Regions from separate parts of the Homo sapiens genome. Here region 2 is linked to region 1. Evidence: promoter capture Hi-C in 16 types of primary human blood cells and fetal thymus (Javierre and others, 2016). All regions are on one chromosome and are shown on one strand. The core of a region is centred on a gene start or on the middle of the fragment in contact, and the rest is flanking DNA. Distances in the headings are between cores, read along the strand shown. Region 1 holds the start of RXRG (retinoid X receptor gamma). Region 2 has its middle 22 kb from the start of LRRC52-AS1.

Region 1 (5,035 bases), core at 996-3,495:
TTGGGAACCAAACTCAGCACACTACCTCTTCCTGCCTCCTCTTCCTCCTGGTGCTCTTTTCACTATATTAAAGCAACAATATTATAAATTTGAGTAAGGGCTTTTCTGGAAGTGTTCTGCAGCTCAGCCCCATATAAATTTGGACTAGTCCCTGCCTTCTTTTGAGCCTCAGTTTACACATCTATAAGATGAGAGCCTAAGATGCTGTTTCAGGTCCTTAGGATGCTAACATTCCAAGATTCCAGCCCCCATGGAATTTTAACTAGATCTTCTTTCTCTGGCTCTTACTTTAGTTCTCTCCCTAAATCCTTCTAGCTTCAACCCTTTTATTCACCCCAACTGTCTCCAAGGGTCTCTTTGGCATTAATGAAGCCACAGTCTCACAGACCTTGGGGGGCCCACGAATCTGGCTGAAAATGAGCATGCACCTCTTACAAATGAACTAAGATGTAAAGGAAAAAGCAATTCTCAGCTCTGAATGGGACTGAGGTGGGAATTGAGGAGGCTTTTCACATCTGGAGCCCAACCATAGACTAGAGATCAAATGCCCAGGTCACAGCATTGGCCACCGCTCTCACTCTGTCATCAGACTGGCCCAAAGAACTTGAACATCACCTCGGGAACATTTCCATGGCCCTCACCCCAAGTCCAAGTACAACCTACGTTTGCTATTACACACATCATGCAGTATTATAATGTGCCTGTGTAACAAGCCTGCCCCAGTCCCAAAGGGCAGAGACTGTGTCTCATTCATATTTGTATTCCCAGTGCCCAACACCATGCCTGCCTCATAAAAACTACCCTGAATGAATGTGCAAACTCCCAGGTCTAACACCTCCTGGTGACAGAGATCACTTCTACCTTGCAGTGTGTCACCATGCCTCCCAGGGGGTTCTGCCCAGCCAAGTTAGGCAAGCTTTAGTCCCAAGCCTTCAGATGAATTGGTCCACGGAGGAAGTCTGGAGAGCAGGGACTTTTCAATTTTCAAAACCTTATAAGAATTTCTGCTGTCTTGCCTGCCAGAATCTTTCTTTGGCTCCCAGCAACATAAGCTGCATGCCTCCAACTGACAAGCGACAGGCCAGTTGGTCAGCTGTTGCTTCCATTTACTCAGAGCTGGGCGGCTGTACTGTTTCTGTCACTAAATCAAGGGATCCTTGGGACGGATGTGCTTGGGCGTTAAGGCAGCCTGAGGACCTAGTCTCCGGAAGCTTCTGTGAAGTGTGACTGGGCTGCCCTGCCTGGCACGGTGACTTGAATCTTCAGTTTGCCAATTCTCTAAGAGCCCCAACCCCCCATCCCCAGATCTCTACCCCCAGAGTGGAAGTGATTGCAGCAACTCTTGCAGTAGAATTGGGGGCAGCAGCAGGGGAGGAGAGAAGAGGCTATTAGCAAATCAAAGGAAAGAAAACAGGGGAAGGAAAACACAGTAGCAAATTAAAGCACTATGTTTTCTTTTTAAAAATCCAATTAAAGGGAAATCTGCTTTTGAGTAAAACAATCATGCCCTTGTTACAAAGTATCCCAGGAACCCTCAAGATAGGCAAAACCTTTTTAATCACATTTTTTCTCATTACAAGTTGGCTAATAGGAACATCATAGTAATTCCCCGTTAACTCTTCCACTTTTCACACCCGCACAAACACACTGGGTTATAACAATGCTCTTATTCTATCTTTGTCTCAGACACATTCTCAAGCATGTTGGTTTACTCTCTCCTTAGAATATCCCCGTATCCTCATTCTGATATGCAAACGTATCCTCACCTACAGACCATTCTTTCCTCCTCTCCTCTCTCATGCACGCGTGCACACACACGCTGAAACGCTATATACACACTATATATGCATATAAACATATATGTTCTCCTTTTAATTCAATACTAATCCAGTCATTCGTATTTCCCAATTTCTTCTCAGTCTCTCATACAGGTCCACGCAGTGAAGCCCAAGGGAGATACTTACCTCCATAGCCTGCGGGAAACTTCATGAAGTGAGAATAATTTCCATACATGTTTACTCGTCAGTTCATGTTCCTCTCCTGTGCAGCTTCTAAATATTACCGCCTCTCTCGGCTCCCAGGCACAGCCCGGCTTTCTTCAACTTGGGCTAACAAGAGTGGTCATCGCTTCCTAGCAGCCCGGGGAGCACAGGCTGGGCCAGCCCTCTGGGATTAGTCAGGAATCTGCCTCTAGATCGGAGAGTCCACATAGTGCGTTTGAGACGGCTGTGGCGGCAGCAGCTGGTGCCTGTCAGTAATCACGCATAATGCTGCCGCCGCCGCCGCCGCCGCCGTCACCGCTACTCTTGCCACCGCCGTCGCTGCTGCTTGAGATCCTGTTGCTAGTTTGATTAACTCAGGGTTGGGCTGCTGCGTGCGACTCTTCCAGCTCCCGGCGCGTCCCCAGAGGTCCCTACCGGGTGGCACGATCTATTATCTAGGAAGCCAATCGATGTATGACCGCCCGGTGTAGGTCAGGAGAGAGGCGGGAGACGGCAGGGGATGGAAGACTCTTTAGGTGCCTGTTCCTTGACTTACATCCACAAAAATCAATGGGATTTTATTAAAATGCATTTTCTCATTCGAACTTCTATCTGTCCAATGTACTTGGTATTTGATCTGTGAAAGGAGGAGGGGGTGGGGTTCAAGAGAGAACAGGGCCCTTTCAGAAGCACAAGATTAGAAAAGCGTGATACTCAATCTCCAGCTACGGAAAACTAAAATAGAGTAGCCCTTAAGTTGAGGTGGGCCTCTCCTGCTTGGGTGGCCGGAAGCATTTATCTGTGCTCTAACAATGGGAGTTTGACAAGTGCAGCTGGAGCCAGAGCTCACTCAGGTGGAAAACTTACAGGTAGGGAGGAGGGGTTGGCTTGATGTGGAGGTCTTTCTCTGCATTTATTTTATATACCATTGTTATCCTGCCGCCTGTTCAAAAACACCACTGGGTCCTCACTAACACAGAGCCTGTCTTGTGTGGAACTGACCCGAGATCAAAGAATCTAAGCACCCCGTTGATGTTTGGGTCTGTCATACAGTTTTCGTGACAAGTCACCGCTCAGCCTATACTTGAACACCTCCAATAATGGGGAGCTCACCACTTTCTCATTCCATTTCTAGATAGTTTTCACCACAAGAAAGTTTCTTATAGAGATAAAATCTGCTCCTTTTCCCTACAGCTTCTGCCCACAGGTGCTAGACTGCTCCCAGGGGCCACACAAGAGAAGCCTGAAAGACAAAAAAGTCTTTCACAGTGGGATCCTCTGCAAATCCTGAGATTGATCTGCTGTGCCCATAATCCCCCTTTCCCTAGGCATCTCTGGCTCTTTCAGTAATTCTATGTATCACCAAGGGTTCATGTCTATTCCCAACCTATCCTTTTTCTAATAATGTACTTCAGTTTACATAGATACCCTCACAGTGAGGAAGGGGGTTGGCCAGACTTGGATGCAATACTCCAGATATGGTCCAAACCTTTTCCTCATGGTATATGTGTTGGCACGGTGATGGGGTGCTGTCAACATACCCATTGAAGGTCCGTTTCATGGGCTGAGCTCTGTTGGGCTGGAAAAAAGATAAGAGATTTTCTCCTGATGCAGCATAAGACATAGAGAGCCAGAGAGGTAAGTCAAATCAGGGTCCCAGAGTAAAAAATCAAGATTCAAATGCTAGGAGAAGCCAAAACAAAAACGTAGAATAAAAGACCAGAGTCAGGAACAAAGTCATGATGACAAAGGAGGAGGCCAAAATGGGGAATCAAAGCAAAAGCATGTCACAAAGGAGGAAGAAATATCCAGGCCTTCACTGTAAAGAGCTTTGGAGAGCCCAGAGCTGCCTTGACTGTTGCTGGGATGAGAGTCCAGTGGACATAAGTAATATAGAATACAGGAGGACCATTTGCTCACTTGCATTAGGTGGGCAGCTCTGCATGTTAATTCATGTAGAACTAACTCGATAAAAATCTCCCCACCCCTACCTCCCCTAAGTTGTGTTCTCTTATGCATATTCTTCATCCCATCCTTGGGCAATTGGTTTTGGGACCTACATGAAATGCTTCCTATATTCCTCTGAAGTTAAAACTTTTTGGCTTCATTCATCATCCCAAATCTTTTAGGATCCTGCTTCTGTTGTCCAAAATATTTCTTATTCATACCCTTATTTCATGACTTCTGAAAATCTGATGAACTGCTTTTTCATATCTTATTCGACTCATTGATAAAAATGTTGACATAGACATAGCAAAGACAACATCTTATATCACTAAAAAGTCCATTCATTAGTGCCTTAGACACTTTGCTCTGCTACTCACTAGTTATATGGCCTTGAAAGGCTATATGTATAGTAAAAGCACCAACTCACCAACTCACAAGCCAACATTGCTGGGTACAAATCCCTGTTCCGCTGCTTACAGCCTCATGATACTGGCAAATGAGTAAATCTCCCTGAGCCTCAGTTACCTTATAGGGTTACCATGAGGATTAAATGAGTCAATACATGTTAAGCACTTGAAATACGCCAGATAAATACTAAATGCTCGATACATGTAATCTAATTTGAGGCAAATGATGGGGAGGAGGAGGAGGTCAAAGAGGAAGAGGATGTAACCTTAAGCAAGTCACTTTATGGCTCCTCTCCTTTTTCTCATTTGTAAAATGATGGAGCAGAGCTACATGGGTTCCAATATCATCTTCAGCTTTAAAACTGAACGCAGACTAATGCATCACCCATTCCATAATTGTCCATTTTCTCCATAGTGGTATCTGAAGCAAGTGTCTTACAATCTACAGTTTTCTATTGTACGCATGTCAGAGAAGGAAATGAGTTACTTAAACTGTTTTTTTGTGTGTGTGTGAACCCATGTTTCAAGGGTTTTTCCAAGTACTCAAGTACTCAAAAACCATTCTTTAAAAATCACAGTCTACAGACTTGTCCAAGGTCATTGTCAAGATGATCTGTTGGTTAAGCCACCAACAGATAGACTCTTTCTTCACCTTTTTCTAAGTTCAGTACATTGTCTATTTCTTTTCCTCACAGAAGA
Region 2 (5,247 bases), core at 564-3,063, 160 kb after region 1:
AAGCATCATAATCCATTTTCATTTCTACTTTAATACAAGGGTCAGTATGAATTGTCATCCATTGATAGTGGAAATTCTCTACAATAGCTTCTCTATGAGTATGTTAGCAGCACAGTGGAAAAAGAAATATATGAGAACCTTGACTGCTTTCCACCTCTTTCTCTCGTAACTTTCAGTATTCCACAATCAATTCCTTCCACACTACCAAGGAGAGTCCAAAGAAATCAGTGTCCTGAGATCCACCACTGAAATTAAGCATTGCTGTGGGTGAAACTCAAGTGACGCTGACTTTCCAGGATATAGGAGTAATTAGAAATATAAAGTGAATAAGAGAAGGTGGAACATTTGATGAGAAGTGATAAGTGGCCACAAGGTGGCATAGGACAACAGCCACAGAGCACTCCCTTCCTCCCAAGTGACTCCATTTTGCATAAGGGCTCTGTCTCTGCTGCCCTGCCCTCTTACAACTTAGCACCCTTAAAAGCTGTCTTTGCAAACACCCTCGTGCCTTTCTTCTCCCACATTCCGTAGTCAGTGGTCCTCTTTCCCTAGTTCCTCTTTTCTTTCAATAGGTCTCAATTCTCATTGTTTCAGCATGGATTCCCTTTACTCGCAGGTGACCCTGCTTGTTGGTCCTGTACTCGGCAATTCCTCCTTCAGAAAAGTGAGCTCGGCAGGGCACGGTGGCTCATGCCTGTAATCCCAGCACTTTGGGAGGCTGAGGCCAGCAGATCACGAGGTCAAGAGATTGAGACCATCCTGGCCAACATGGTGAAACTTCGCCTCTACTAAAAACACAAAAATTAGCCAGGCATGGTGGCAGGCACCTATAATCCCAGCTACTTGGGAGGCTGAGGCAGGAGAATCGCTTGAACCCAGGAGGCGGAGGTTGCAGTGAGCCAAGATCACACCACTGCACTCCAGCCTGGGCAACAGAGTGAGACTCTGTCTCAAAAAAAAAAAACTAAATAAATAAATAAAATAGAAAAGTGAGCTCCTCCACTGCATCTCCAAGTCACACATTCAGTGGAATCTAAGTGAGGCATGCAGCAGAGTCCACTGGTTTGGCCATTTCACCAGTCACGTTGGGGTCCAACAGGGCTGAGTAACAGAAGGCTGTTGATTGACTTTATGTAATCTTCAAGAGTTTCCTGAGTAGTCAGTTTGAGTTTTTTAGATGATATGATCTTCTATAGAGGAAATAGATTAGGGCATTAAAATTGAGAAAGCAGTGCCTGACTGGATGTTTGTTAAGGAATTATTACCCAAAGACAAGTGGCCTAGGAGTCAGTAGACTGACCTGGATTTTAATCCCACCCCTAGCACATAGCTTGTATGTTTAGGCCAGTTAATTAATTCTATGAGTGGCATCCTTTTGTCCATAAAATGAGGGTAATATCCATCTTGTAGGATTTGTAACATGTAAAATATCTACTTCAATAAATGTTGGTTTCCTCTTTTTCCCTCATATGCAAAATGAAGGGGACTGGGCCAGGTGTTGTGGCTCACACCTATAATTCCAGCGCTTTGGGAGGCCAAGGCTGGAGGATAGATTGAGCCTAGGAGTTGGGGATCAGCCTGGGCAAGAAAGTGAGACCCCAACTCTACAAAAAAAAAAAATCAAAAAATTAGCTGGATGTGGTGACATGCACCTGTGCCTATGGTTCCAGCTACTCGGGAGGCCGAAGCAGGAGGATTGCCTGAGCCCAGGAAGTTCAGGCTGCAGTGAGCCAAGATCATGCCATTGCACTCCAGCCTGGGCAACAGAGTGAGACCCTGTCTCAAAAATAGTAGGGGGAGGAGGGACTGGACTAGATCTTTAAGTCTTTTCCAATGTTAATATTCTATGTTCTATACCTTATTACAATGATGACTCTCATAAATTAATGGAAGTCTGGCAGCAAGTGAATAATAAAGTATCTCCTGATTTTAGGGGAACAGGGGCTATCAAGAACTAAAATAGGATTGCTTTACACTTCTGTGAGCATTCTCTACAACTCCTTCCTCTCCAGACCTTTTGAAGAGGCAGAACAGTTTCCTGTCCCTCAATCAAAGACTACATATAAACAGGGAGTGGGCTGGGCATGGTGGCTCATGCCTGTAATCCCAAAACTGTGGGAGGCCAAGGCGGGCTGATCACTTGAGATCTGGAGTTCGAGACCAGCCTGGCCAACATGATGAAACCCTATCTCTATTAAAAATACAAAAAATTAGCTGGGTGTGGTGATATGCACCTGTATTCCCAGCTACTTGGGAGGCTGAGGCATGAGAATCACGTGAACCCAAGAGGCAGAGGTTGCAGTGAACCGAGATCACGCCACTTCACTTCAGCCTGGGTGACAGAGGGAGACTCTGTCTTTAAAAAAATAATAATAGGGAGTGGCCTCAGCCAAAGACATGGCTAGTTTAGAGTGGGAAGGGCTCAGCAACTTCCCAAAGCACAGGGTCCCAGCAGAAAGACTACCCTGTGATCCTTCCCTCAGGAGTGGCTTCCTTCCAGTGCCCCTATTACCTCCTCTTAGAGCCCGGAGACACTGCAAATGTCAGTGTCCAGGATGCTCTGGGTAGAAGTTAATGATTACTTGAGTCAGCTCTTTCTGCAAACCCTGATGCCTGTGCCTGGTCACTCCGAATCTGGAAGAGACACTGCATAATCTTTGGAAATTCACTGCAGTTATTTTCTTCATCTCCCAATAATCAACCTCAACAACATCCCTCAGTCCTAGGAACTTCCTAGATGGAGTTTGGTCTCTAGACTAGCTATGGGATATCATAACAGCTATGAAGGAATAGAATCATTTTGTGACTTTAACCTATTAGCCCTCTAGTACTGGCCTTAAACAGAGAGACAGGTTTAAAAAACAAAGCCCATGACTCAAGTTAAGGACTCCAGAGCCTGGAAACTCTCTCTCAGGATTGATACCTCTGTTGTTTTTTCAGGACTTAATGTTAGGAACATGGGTTCTCTATATTGGGGGAGTATTATGGAATGAATTGTGTCTCCACAAAATTCATGTGCTGAAGTCCTAACCTCAGAATGTGATTGTATTTGGAATGAGGGCCTTTAAAAGATAGTTAAGGTAAAATGAGGTCATATGGATGGGCCCTAATCCAATATGACTGGTGTCTTTTAAGGAGAAGAGATTAGGACACAGATATACCAAAGGTAGATCATGTAAAGATACCAGAAGAGAATGGCCATCTACAAGCCAAAAAAAAAGCGGTCTTCAAAGAAACCAACCCTGCCAACACCTTAATCTCAGACTTCAGCCTCCAGAATTATGAGAAAATTAATTTCTGTTGTTTAAGCCACCCAGCTGGTGTACTTTGCTATGTAATTCCAGAAAACTAATATAGGGAGAGTTATTAAGACATGTCTCATATTTCTGCCCTTTCCTATTGCCTCCAACCAGATTGTATCTGCTTCCCTGTGTCTACTTGCTGGCTTGGAACTTATTAAGATTGGATCCTTCCTGGAAGAAATTTGCTGATGGAGGCAGAAGGACACTCAGAATTGAAACTGTGTGAGCTTTGGTGCCTGGGATCCTTACTTGCTGTTGCCCATACTTAATTCAAATACTCAATGGATATTTATTATGTCCTAGGGCTATAAGAACATAAGAAAAAGACCCCTGAAACTAGGAAAGAAAGCTTCAAAGAGATGGTCATTTAGACATTTTTAAAGAATGAGAGGAATTGTTGGAGAAGATTGGCATGGGAGAAGAGAATTGAAGCAGAGGGAACAGCATGTACAAAGGTACAAAGATGTGAAACAGAATGACCCGCTGGAGGAACTACATCCTACTGACTAGAATATAGTGTCCATGTGGGCCTGTGGCACAAGGAGAGATAGGAACCCAAACCCGGTTGGAAAATACGTGGGCCTGTGGCACAAGGAGAGAGAGGAACCCAAACCCGGTTGGAAAATACAATCTGGGAGGCAGCTGCGGGGTGTGGAGGAGCCTCAGGTTATTCACTATCTACAGCATGCCCAGGTAGAGTGGTTTCAGCAGTCAGAGAGTGCCCTCAGGCAAAGAATAGCAGCTGCTGACAGCTGGAAATTGTAATCCATGGTAATGGTTGCAGCTGAGATGTGGGTGGGTACCCCCAGCATCTCCTAGATCAACCATACATTTGTGTGAGCCATTTGGTTTTCTCTAGTAGGTCTTGATTTAAGTTCCTGAACTCTGCCCACCACCACCAGCAGCCATGACTTCTTGGCAAGACTCCAAACCCCTCCCTACCTTCACTCTTTAGGTAAGTTGTTTAAAGATGCTATGCCTCCTTGGGAATTTCATTGATTTCCATGTTCCATTCTGCCTGTTCAGCCTCTGCCAACCACTGTCCTGGACTCTCTGGCAGACTGTGCCTTCCTGGTTCTTGTTGGTTACTGGTTGCTTACTGGTTGCAGCCCTATACCTGTTCTTGAACCCCAACTATTGACCCTGTCCTAGGTTTAGTTTACTAACATGGTCTAAATTCTAGTACAGTGATAACTTGAAGAAGCTCAGGCCTAACTTACTAACCATAATATCTTACCCTATTGGAACTGAGCTTTTCCCAAAGAGTACCTCCAGTGTCTTCGCTCCATCAGGATCAGTCAGTCCTACCCTCACCCAACTATCTATAGCCCTAAAGGACCACTGATCATGGCAAGTTAAGGCAATTATCAATAAGGAAGAACAATGATAAAGTATTAGAAGAAGTTAAGTTAAAACCTTGTGTTGCTGAATTTGAAATAGAGAAGTATCAATATTAACTTGTAAGGTATTTTATCTTTTAAAAATTCCCTTGCTCTGTCCACTGAAAAGCCAAGAAATAATGATCAACCTAGTATCAATGAATATCTCTAGAGCCAATATTGTGAATCTGAAATCTATTTTCCATTAAAAGAAATCATGGCTGATTCTAGATCTAGGGCAGGAAATGTACAAGATGAGTCTGGAACATCTTATAATAGAAAGGAAGGAAGGAAGCTACACATGATCATTAGGTGTAGGGTCCAGCCCTACAGGGCTTAGCAGGTGTTCTCCCCGTGTGCAAAGATGAGAGATTGTAAGAAATAAAGACACAAGACAAAGAGATAAAGAGAAAACAGCTGGGCCCGGGGGACCACTACCACCAAGACACAGAGACCGGTAGTGGCCCTTCCCTTTTAGGTAGCCGAAGCAAAGAGGGAAGGCAGTATATGTCAGCGTTTTCTTCCATGCACTTATAAGAAAGATCAAAGACTTTAAGACTTTCACT

What was found. Contacts are between HindIII fragments. The CHiCAGO score rates a contact against its expected background, and 5 or more counts as called.
Region 2: a contact is called between a fragment that was not itself captured here and the fragment with the promoter of RXRG in region 1, in 1 of 17 cell types (naive CD4 T cells). The highest score is 5.4, in naive CD4 T cells.

What each region holds. Positions count from the first base shown.
Region 1 is chr1:165,442,881-165,447,915 of GRCh38, forward strand. It overlaps RXRG (retinoid X receptor gamma), which reads right to left and starts at 2,246. Exons shown (of 10, transcript NM_006917.5): 1 at 1,965-2,246. The coding sequence starts at 2,013. The HindIII fragment of the contact is 7,493 bases long and covers 1,210-5,035 here.
Region 2 is chr1:165,601,432-165,606,678 of GRCh38, forward strand. No RefSeq gene overlaps it. Among named protein-coding and RNA genes, the nearest start is that of LRRC52-AS1, 22 kb to the left of the region's middle. RefSeq lists a silencer at 944-1,104. The HindIII fragment of the contact is 3,672 bases long and covers 1-3,649 here.